4 separate regions of the Homo sapiens genome follow, and regions 2, 3 and 4 are each linked to region 1. The links are contacts of gene promoters, found by promoter capture Hi-C in blood cells and fetal thymus (Javierre and others, 2016). All regions are on one chromosome and are shown on one strand. Each heading gives the region's core, a stretch centred on a gene start or on the middle of the fragment in contact. The rest is flanking DNA. Distances are from core to core; before and after follow the strand shown.

Region 1 (2,700 bases), core at 184-2,683:
GTATATATATATATATGTATATATATATATGATGGAATACTACTCACTTATAAAAAGGAACAAAATAATGGCATTCACAGCAACCTGGATGGAGCTGGAGACCTTTATTCTAAGTGAAGTAACTCAGGAATGGAAAACCAAATATCATATGTTCTCACTTATAAGTGGGAGCTAAACTATGAGGATACAAATAGGTAAGAATGACATAATGTATTTTGGGGACACAGGGAAAAGTGTGCAGTGTGGGCGAGGGATAAAAGGCTACACATTGAGTACAGTGTACACTGCTCAGGTGATGAGTGCACCAAAACCTCAGAAATTACCCCAATGAACTTATTCACATAACCAGAAACCTCCTACTTCCCAAAAATTATTGAAATAAAAAACAATTAAAAAAATTTGAAAATTGGAAAATTTATATACACATGAAAAATTATCAAGTGACATTAATCTATATTATATATTTATTATAACAATATTACAAATTGATTATTAAACACAAAGTTGACATCAATTCTCAAAGAGCTTATAGAAGGCATTTTTCACCTCTTCGTTTCTTAAGCTGTAAATCAAAGGGTTAAGCATGGGGATTACTAAAGTGTAAAACACAGAAGCCATTTTATCAGTATCAAAGAAGTGAGTGGAATTGGGCTGCATGTACATGAAGAGTAGAGACCCATAGAACACAACCACCACTGTCAAATGGGAACCACATGTGGAGAAAGCCTTTTTCCTGCCCTCTGCAGAATGCATTTGACATATAGCTAACAAAATCAACATGTAGGACACTAAGACTATCAGAAAGGAGGAGATCAAATTAAATACAGAAAATAGTATGCTCAACAATTCTATTTCCTGTGCATTTGAGCAAAGCATAGGTAGCAAAGGAACATCATCACAGTAAAAATGACTGATGACATTAGAGCCACAGAAGGTCAATGTAAAAATCTTAATAGTGAACATCAGAGCCTGAAATGTGCTGTAGAGATATTGAATGCCCACCAGTACATGACACAGTCGCTGAGACATAATAACATAATAGAGCAGAGGGTTACAAATGGCCACATAGCGGTCATAGGCCATGGCTGACAGGATGAAAAATTCACTGATAATGAACATAAGGAAGAATGCCAGCTGTGCAGCACATGCATAATAGGAAATAGTATTTCGATCCACAACAAAATTTGCCAGCACCTTGGGACAAATGACAGTAGAATTACCAAGATCAACAAAAGCCAAATGTCTGATAGAAAAGTACATAGGTGTATGTAAGTGGGAGTCCAGTTTGGTCAAAATGATCATAGTTAGGTTGCCCACCACTGTGATTAGGTAGATGACGAGGAAGACTCCAAAAAGGGGAATCTGCAGCTCAGGCCGCCTTGTGAGTTCCATCAGAATGAATTCAGTTAGCACTGTTAGATTGTGTTGGCCCATTTAGTCCAGTTATCTCTTCTAGGAAGAAACAGTTGGGTTATTAGCTGTTCCATGTAGTGCTATTTAAACAAATTATAATATTTGTAGACAGAATAGATTGTTATTCACAATAGATAATAGAAACATTATTTCTACATTTGATTCAGAAATGAAATATAAAGCAAAATTTTCTACTTTCCTAAAAGAGGAATTCATGTAAAATACATGCACTGAAACAACATAGATTAAATAGTTTCATCAATATTTGAAGTATATCGGTTAATAACACAGCCATATAGGTATTATTACAAAAAGATTATGCTCTTTTCATCTGCACAATGGTATCATGATTTTCTTTTGTTCACTTCCACTTTTGTTGTAAAACTTTTCTGTAATTTTGATATTCTCAAAGACAGAGGTAGAGATGGCAATAAGATAATGAAGGTTAAGATTTGGGGTCCCTCATTTGCACTTCCAGGGTCTTGTGTGGGGACTTACGAATGCACGCAAAAATGATATATCTTTGTAAAATTTCAAATGTAAGATATAATAATCATGATCAATTAAGGCTGCTTTCTGTTTTCATTCCAACTTCTAGTATATCACACTTCAACTAATATCATAGTGACTTGACATTTCTGCAAGCATTGTGGGATCTAGCTAAAGAAGGATTGAGTTAATAATAGTTTATTTGATGTTCAATGGATATGTTTATATCATTCAGACACTATGATATTTATCACTGAATAATACTACCTATTCTGACTTAAGAATGTCTTCTAAGGATACTCTTGCCACCTGTATGCTGAGATGCATTTGGCATTTGATTAATTAACATACTATATTAATAAATTTTATATAGTTTGTGGCCATGGGTTTGTTTACTAATTACAATTTAAAGCTAATTTTCTATTCTAAATAAATATTCCCATTTATCTTTCAACTTGTATGTGTAATTTTATCTAAAAAGTCAAATTCTTCTAAGCTTCAAGACACATAATCTGGATCCACTTCTGCAAAAACATGATTTAAATCAATATTCAGTGATGACTATTTAATTATATGTACTTTATTTTCTGTAATAAAACACTGTGAAGATGGTAGGTTCTATAAATCATTTAAATAATTTGAGAATTTAGGACATCATATATTAGTGAATGACTTTTTTTCTGGAATTGTACAGTGGAGTATTCATGGAGATATAATACTGTAATTAAAACTATTTCAATGAAAAGTACTTCTCCCTTTATTTAAAAAATACACGGGAAGTCAATAAAAGAAAGTGGA
Region 2 (2,700 bases), core at 116-2,615, 110 kb after region 1:
GAGGCACAATCTCAGCTCACTACAACCTCTGCCTTTCAGGCTGGAAGCTGGAACTACAGGCGAGCCACTGCACCCGGCCTTTTTGACCATTTTAGGTGGTTTTTAAGGTCTTTGACTCATTTTTAAATCAGGTTGTTTGTGTTCCTATTGAGTTTTAAACAGTTCTTTGTAAATTTTAGATAACAGTCTTTTATCAGATGTGTCCTTGCAAGTATTTTCTCCTAGTCTGTTGTCATTTCATTCTTTTGATCATCCATGTATTTTTCATCACATTTTGGATAATTTCTTATGTGCATATCAAAGAACAAGTATATAGATTAGTATATCAATTCTTGAAGATAGAAAAGATCTCGCAGAACTTAAAAAATTGACCTTTAACTCTGCCATATATCTGAGTCTAATGTTCTAGTTCACAGAAAATTATTACATAGAACATCTGCATATTGCCCTAACTCTTCTGTTAATATTCTCTATTCATAGATTTACCTTATAATTATGTGCATTAATATCTCCTCTATTAATTTTTTTTTTTGAGATGGAATCTCACTCTTTCACCCAGGCTAGAGTGTGCAGTGGCATGGTCTCGGCTCACTGCCAACCTCTACCACCTGGGTTCAAGCAATTCTCATGCCTCAGCCTCCCCAGTAGCTGGGATTACAGGCGTCCACCACCAAGCCCGGCTAATTTTTTGTATTTTTAGTAGAGATGGGGTTTTTCCATGTTGGCCAGGCTGTTCTCGAACTCCTGACCTCAGGTGATCTGCCTGTCTCGGCCTCCCAAAGTGCTGGGATTACAGGCATGAGCCACCGCACCTGGCCTATTAAATTTTCAATGAAGTTAAATCTCTCTCATACCATTTAGAATTAGAGGACTGTCAAATTTAAATAAATATAGTAACCTTTATTAAATGATTATATGTCTTGTCATAGGTTATGTTTTCATATTATTTCATTATGTATGTGACAATAGGACTTCCAGATAATTCATAGGTTATAATTTCAAGAAGAAACTGAATTTTAGAGAATTTAAGTTATTAATTTGATAGCATGTAGATAATTAGAATCAGAGCTAGCACTATGGCCTGTATTATTAGCTTTCTTTTTCAGTAATATGCATATTTTTTTCCACTGGGGGATTATTTTGGACCTAGGTAGAAAGTACACTTATGTGATCATTGGAATCATGTAATGCATGTTCCAGATCAGTTACTTGTTCACTACAGAAAAAAAAAAAAATCATAATTTGTTTTATCCCAGAAGAGAATTAGTGTGTTTTCTTCTTTGGGCATCCCTGTGGAATTCTAGAGCTCAAGGGCCTGGTATAAGAATTCAAATGCACAATATTCATAGCATACCTGAATTGAGTGAGCAGTTCATTTCCAAAGGTAAGAGAAAAGGAATCTGATCACTTGTAAAATATTAAGAAGCTCTCACCTTGAATTTAAGACTAAAACATATTTCTTACTATTTAAATATAAGAAAGAGGGTTCTGTTTAATGTGAAGCTGTATTACAAATTGAATCACATACTTTCCAAGGATCATAGGAGAGAATACGTGTGTTGTTTTAGCAACAGTTTATAAAAATAATTGTATTACTTGTTATTGGATGGTATTTATTTTATAGAAATTTCAGAAGTTACGTAAGAATCATAGTAAAAGGATAGCCATAATTCATTTTTGATATAAATATGTCACAAAAATACACCCAAGGACTTCACAGGCATAATGACCAAATGATCATATAAATTGACACGTCTGATATTGGTTTTAAGTTAAAATCTGAAAAATAATAATGCTTAAAAAAACTGCACAGGCCAAAATGAACAAATTGGTGATATTTTTTTCAGGAAAGAAAAGTGAAACACAAAAGGAAAAATAAATGAAAAATGAACACCAAATTCTTTTGGTTTGCAAACAAGGTGCATCTATCTCCAGAATCAAATCTCTTGTATCCACCACCATTCTGTAAGTACTAATGCAACAGCAGGATAATTGCCAAAAAAAAAAAAAGGATTTGAAATGGTTTGGTCAGAAAGACTGTCTCAAATGATAAATTTTAATATAAGCCTGACATTGCATTTTCTAGTTATCTGGGCATATTTAAATATTAAATAACTTACATACTGTTTTTCCCATTTAAATACAACCCACTCTTATAATGTAGATATGATTGTTTCCATATTTAAAATGAGAAAAATAAAGTAATTCAATGGACTTTTTAGAAAACCTAGGAATAGCACTCAGTCTTTATGAGTTTTGAAACAATTTAATATTAAGAATAGATGGTAGTACATTTGATGGAAAATGAACAGGAAATTAAACTGATTAAATAGACTTTTTTTACACTTTAAGTTCTGGGGTACATGTGCAGAATGTGCAGTTTTGTTACATAGGTATACACGTGCCACGGTGGTTTGCTGCACGCATCAACCCGACACCTACCTTAGGTATTTCTCGTAACGTTATCCCTCCCCTAGCCTCCCACCCTCCGACCGGCCCTGGCGTGTGATGTTCCCCTTCCTATGTCCATGTGTTCTCATTGTTCAACTCCCACTTACGTGTGAGAACATGCGGTGTTTGGTTTTCGGTTCTTGAGATAGTTTGCTGAGAATGATGGCTTCCAGCTTCATCCATGTTAAAAAGATAAATTTAGTGCATGATTGAATAAAATAATTTATTTAATTTATTTAATTACAGTAA
Region 3 (2,700 bases), core at 186-2,685, 67 kb before region 1:
TGAAAGGTAATATATACAGTACCTAATACTATCATCAAAACCATCAACATTTTTTCATCAACATCATAACATTTAGGGTCCATTATACAGGAAATAGAGCTCTATACTAAATAACAACTTTTGTTATTTGATATTTAGCATTGTAGATGAGGCAAAAATAATGAACTTGAAAATAAGTGAAAGATTGCTGAAACATAGGATGTTTCCTCTGGGTGACTGAATCCCAGGTACATCTAATTTTCTCATCTGCTTTTTCCTAAAATTTGTGTGTCTGTCTGTCTGTGAGTATAGTTTGCATGTTTCTCACATTGGGAAACTTGTTATTTTTTTAATGTCTGCATCTTACATTAGGCTTTAAGAAAAATGCCCTTCATGACAGGCAAGACAAAATGCCTTCATTGAATAAATGCTTGTCAAGTAAATGAATGGATAAATAGGAACACTGTGACCATGGAACACATTAAATGATTAAGTACATGTGATATATAATAAGAATAATATGTTATATTATTATTATTGATAATAATTATTATCAAGTCCCATTTGGTTACTCAAGGAGAGTGCTAAATGTCTAAACAAAGGTGATTATTTAACTTTGCTTGGCGGGCTAGTTTCAAATGCATTTATTCGTCATATATTTATGTTAAGTTAATTAGGCAATAAAGTTCTTTAGTTTCTAGCATGCCCACCTTATAATTTAATTCTTATTTTTAAATGTAACAAATCAGGTTTGTTTTACTGTTTTTAACATTTATTTATATCATTGTCTTAAAAACTGCTGTTCAGCAATGAATTGGCTAGCACCTGATGTCATAGATTAATATATGCAATATATCTAGAAACAATCATGTTGTTTGAACAAACATACATGAAAGAATTTAAACTATGTTATAGATGAAGGCCCTCATTTGGTCTTATCTCACTGAATTTTTTATTAGATAAACTGCTCTATTCATTAGATACAATTCATTTTGTTAGATAACTTGCTATATTTATTAGATACAGATTGATTTCATTAGATAAGTTGCTATATTCATTAGATACAATTAATTTCATTTGATAATTTGCTATATTTGTTAGATACAATTGATTTCATTAGATAAATTGCCAGACCCAATGACAGACAGGGGTAGAGAATGGTACATCTTAGGAGGAATTTCTACACATCTTTCCAGACATGTATTTTTTAGTCTACACAATCGTGAATTTGAGTTTTTTTCTGTATTAATGTCTGTAAGTTTTCAGTTTTATAAAAAATAAAAATTATCCGTAAATCTCTAGCTAACTTCAGGTCATTAAATTTTACTTTCCATTTGTAAAACTTTCATGATTGGAGTCTAAGTCAAATTTGATTATAGGGCCTTTAGATTTGAATCCTTCTCTAACTTTCCTTATTGTTATTCAGCAGGTAAGTCAAAGGCCTGAGTTGATGTAAATGGCTGGCAACAATTTCACTGAGGTTACCGTCTTCATCCTCTCTGGATTTGCAAATCACCCTGAATTACAAGTCAGTCTTTTCTTGATGTTTCTCTTCATTTATCTATTCACTGTTTTGGGAAACCTGGGACTGATCACGTTAATCAGAATGGATTCTCAGCTTCACACCCCTATGTACTTTTTCCTGAGCAATTTAGCATTTATTGACATATTTTACTCCTCTACTGTAACACCTAAGGCATTGGTGAATTTCCAATCCAATCGGAGATCCATCTCCTTTGTTGGCTGCTTTGTTCAAATGTACTTTTTTGTTGGATTGGTGTGTTGTGAGTGTTTCCTTCTGGGATCAATGGCCTACAATCGCTACATAGCAATCTGCAATCCCTTACTGTATTCAGTAGTCATGTCCCAAAAAGTGTCCAACTGGCTGGGAGTAATGCCATATGTGATAGGCTTCACAAGCTCGCTGATATCTGTCTGGGTGATAAGCAGTTTGGCGTTCTGTGATTCCAGCATCAATCATTTTTTTTGTGACACCACAGCTCTTTTAGCACTCTCCTGTGTAGATACATTCGGCACAGAAATGGTGAGCTTTGTCTTAGCTGGATTCACTCTTCTTAGCTCTCTCCTTATCATCACAGTCACTTATATCATCATCATCTCAGCCATCCTGAGGATCCAGTCAGCAGCAGGCAGGCAGAAGGCCTTCTCCACCTGCGCATCCCACCTCATGGCTGTAACTATCTTTTATGGGTCTCTGATTTTCACCTATTTGCAACCTGATAACACATCATCGCTGACCCAGGCGCAGGTGGCATCTGTATTCTATACGATTGTCATTCCCATGCTGAATCCACTCATCTACAGTCTGAGGAACAAAGATGTGAAAAATGCTCTTCTGAGAGTCATACATAGAAAACTTTTTCCATGACAAATTTATGTATGTTACAATTAAAACAAAGGTGGATGGCTTCAGGAATTCAGTTATGCCAACAACTAGGAAAATAGTAGAGTAACCTCAAAAAGCATAACACAAACTAAATGAGAACTTAGAGTCTTGAAGTTTGTGAATTGAATTATTATTTCATTTGTTTATATGGACCACTAACTCACTGTATTTGGAGGTCAATTCGGCATATAAATTATTCAGACATAGACATGTACAAGGAAATAAGAGGCACCTGAACATGCATATATAAGCATGCCATCACACTGAAACATGTTTAAAATTATTACATTAAGAACATGCAATTTTTGTCATTC
Region 4 (2,700 bases), core at 107-2,606, 92 kb after region 1:
TTGTAAGTCACTGAATTCAGAATGGACCTGCATATGACAGAGTTGTCACCCCTTTTAAAACTTTCATAATCTATGACATGATAAAAGAAAAACAAAGTCACCTTGCTTAAATCTCCCCTCTAATTTTACCTCTAAATTTAGTGTATGTAGTACTAAACCGTTTCAATAACAGGTTTTCAGTCTAGATACAGAAGTCCCTGTAACCTTGTTACCTTTTTTCTTTTAATTATTTATTTATTTTTGGTTGTGTAATTGTCTTTCTTCATACTTGTCAATGTGAAACAGAATGATACCATCAGGAAAGAAGTCCAGAGGACAAACACTACTTTCTTGCAAATATAGTAATGTTATTTTTTAGCCAGATATTCTATAATTTTTATTAGTTATTATTGGTGATTTTTATTTCATAGTAATTTTAGAAACTCTAAAAGCAACTATAATATACTAAAAGAATGGCCATGATTTATTTTTAACAGAAATATAAAATAAAATAAAATAAAATACATCCAAGGACTTTGCAAAAATAACAAACATATGAATTATTAGTAAGATATATCTCACATTGTTATTAAGTTGAAATTTAAAAACAGTTATGATAAACAAGGTACAGAGGCCAAAATTTGCCAACTAGGTGATATATATTTCAGGAAGAAAAAATCCTGAAAATAAAACACATTGTAATGTTTGTAAAGGTACGTCTATCTCCAGAATACAGTCTGCTCTTCTATGTAATGGAACAAGATAATTGCCAGAACAGAGGACATGAAATGGTTTTATTTAAAAAGGCTGCTGCATGCGACAAGTTGAAATGTATGTCTGACTTATCCCCATTTTCTAGTCATTTGGAAGCCTTTTAAATTAAATAGTTTTGATATTTTTAAACATTTAAATTCAACTGTGCTGTGAGTGTGGTTTCTCTTATTTTAAAATTGTGAACATTTACAAAAGACATTTCATGTACTTCATCACAAATCTAAAAGTGTACTCAAGTGTGTGCTTTCCACTATAACATATTTAGTTTTAAATATTTCTACATTCAGCAATCTTTGTGAGCTTTAGGACATAATATGAGAGGAAGCAGTAAAAATTTCAACTGAAAATTAACTGGAAAATAAAATCACTTTAATTAGCAGGGTTTTTTAAAAACATGATAAATTTAGCCAAGAAATTAATTACATATTTTTTTTCCTTTTACTTATACAGTGAAATTCATCTATTTGGCTCCAATTACTTCATCATTGTCTATTCCATTACTATCAGGGAAATTATTATGCCCCAAGAAAAAAACAAGGATACAATTGAATGGACTCCACTTTCACAGGCTATAACCTTTATAACCTGCAAGTAAAAACTGAAATGGACAAGTTGTCATCAGGTTTGGATATATACAGGAATCCACTGAAGAACAAGACTGAAGTCACCATGTTTATATTGACAGGCTTCACAGATGATTTTGAGCTGCAAGTCTTCCTATTTTTACTATTTTTTGCAATCTATCTCTTTACCTTGATAGGCAATTTAGGGCTGGTTGTGTTGGTCATTGAGGATTCCTGGCTCCACAACCCCATGTATTATTTTCTTAGTGTTTTATCATTCTTGGATGCTTGCTATTCTACAGTTGTCACTCCAAAAATGTTGGTCAATTTCCTGGCAAAAAATAAATCCATTTCATTTATCGGATGTGCAACACAGATGCTTCTTTTTGTTACTTTTGGAACTACAGAATGTTTTCTCTTGGCTGCAATGGCTTATGATCACTATGTAGCCATCTACAACCCTCTCCTGTATTCAGTGAGCATGTCACCCAGAGTCTATGTGCCACTCATCACTGCTTCCTACGTTGCTGGCATTTTACATGCTACTATACATATAGTGGCTACATTTAGCCTGTCCTTCTGTGGATCCAATGAAATTAGGCATGTCTTTTGTGATATGCCTCCTCTCCTTGCTATTTCTTGTTCTGACACTCACACAAACCAGCTTCTACTCTTCTACTTTGTGGGTTCTATTGAGATAGTCACTATCCTGATTGTCCTCATTTCCTGTGATTTCATTCTGTTGTCCATTCTGAAGATGCATTCTGCTAAGGGAAGGCAAAAGGCCTTCTCTACATGTGGCTCTCACCTAACTGGAGTGACAATTTATCATGGAACAATTCTCGTCAGTTATATGAGACCAAGTTCCAGCTATGCTTCAGACCATGACATCATAGTGTCAATATTTTACACAATTGTGATTCCCAAGTTGAATCCCATCATCTATAGTTTGAGGAACAAAGAAGTAAAAAAGGCAGTGAAGAAAATGTTGAAATTGGTTTACAAATGAAGAATATATTTAAAATTGAGTAAACCTGAAAAAAATGTTGAGTGTCAGAGTTCACATCTCTATATTTTAGTTAAAGTATTTGCATATCAAAGAATAGTTTCAAAAAAGCATTAAGCAGCCTGCCAATGCAGCATTTTTCAAATGTAAACAAATTGCATCACATATTTGCCAATTAATTTGTTCAGAGATCTATATTAAATATTATTTGATATAAATATATTGTTATTGTTACCAACCACACACTACTAACAACAGCTTTCACAGTAAGTAAAAATCAGTTACACACTTATAACTAGTAAGTGAATCCTACAGAATCCTGGGAATTGATAAATGCTTACATGGCTGATAAAAAGTTTTTGCATTCATTGTGGAGTT

What was found. Contacts are between HindIII fragments. The CHiCAGO score rates a contact against its expected background, and 5 or more counts as called.
Region 2: a contact is called between the fragment with the promoter of OR5T1 here and the fragment with the promoter of OR8K5 in region 1, in 16 of 17 cell types (neutrophils, M2 macrophages, total CD4 T cells and 13 more). The highest score is 16.1, in neutrophils.
Region 3: a contact is called between the fragment with the promoter of OR8I2 here and the fragment with the promoter of OR8K5 in region 1, in 13 of 17 cell types (neutrophils, naive CD8 T cells, total CD4 T cells and 10 more). The highest score is 17.4, in neutrophils.
Region 4: a contact is called between the fragment with the promoter of OR5T3 here and the fragment with the promoter of OR8K5 in region 1, in 17 of 17 cell types (neutrophils, total B cells, M2 macrophages and 14 more). The highest score is 34.9, in neutrophils.

The regions. Positions count from the first base shown.
Region 1 is chr11:56,158,884-56,161,583 of GRCh38, forward strand. OR8K5 (olfactory receptor family 8 subfamily K member 5) reads right to left here and starts at 1,434. Exons shown (of 1, transcript NM_001004058.2): 1 at 511-1,434. The coding sequence starts at 1,434. The coding sequence ends at 511. The HindIII fragment of the contact is 6,274 bases long and covers 1-2,396 here.
Region 2 is chr11:56,272,789-56,275,488 of GRCh38, forward strand. OR5T1 (olfactory receptor family 5 subfamily T member 1) reads left to right here and starts at 1,366. Exons shown (of 3, transcript NM_001004745.2): 1 at 1,366-1,384; 2 at 1,848-1,965; 3 at 2,698-2,700. The HindIII fragment of the contact is 3,205 bases long and covers 1-2,700 here.
Region 3 is chr11:56,091,873-56,094,572 of GRCh38, forward strand. It overlaps OR8I2 (olfactory receptor family 8 subfamily I member 2), which reads left to right and starts at 1,436. Exons shown (of 1, transcript NM_001003750.1): 1 at 1,436-2,368. The coding sequence starts at 1,436. The coding sequence ends at 2,368. The HindIII fragment of the contact is 14,451 bases long and covers 1-2,700 here.
Region 4 is chr11:56,250,898-56,253,597 of GRCh38, forward strand. OR5T3 (olfactory receptor family 5 subfamily T member 3) reads left to right here and starts at 1,357. Exons shown (of 1, transcript NM_001004747.2): 1 at 1,357-2,325. The coding sequence starts at 1,357. The coding sequence ends at 2,325. The HindIII fragment of the contact is 3,630 bases long and covers 1-2,700 here.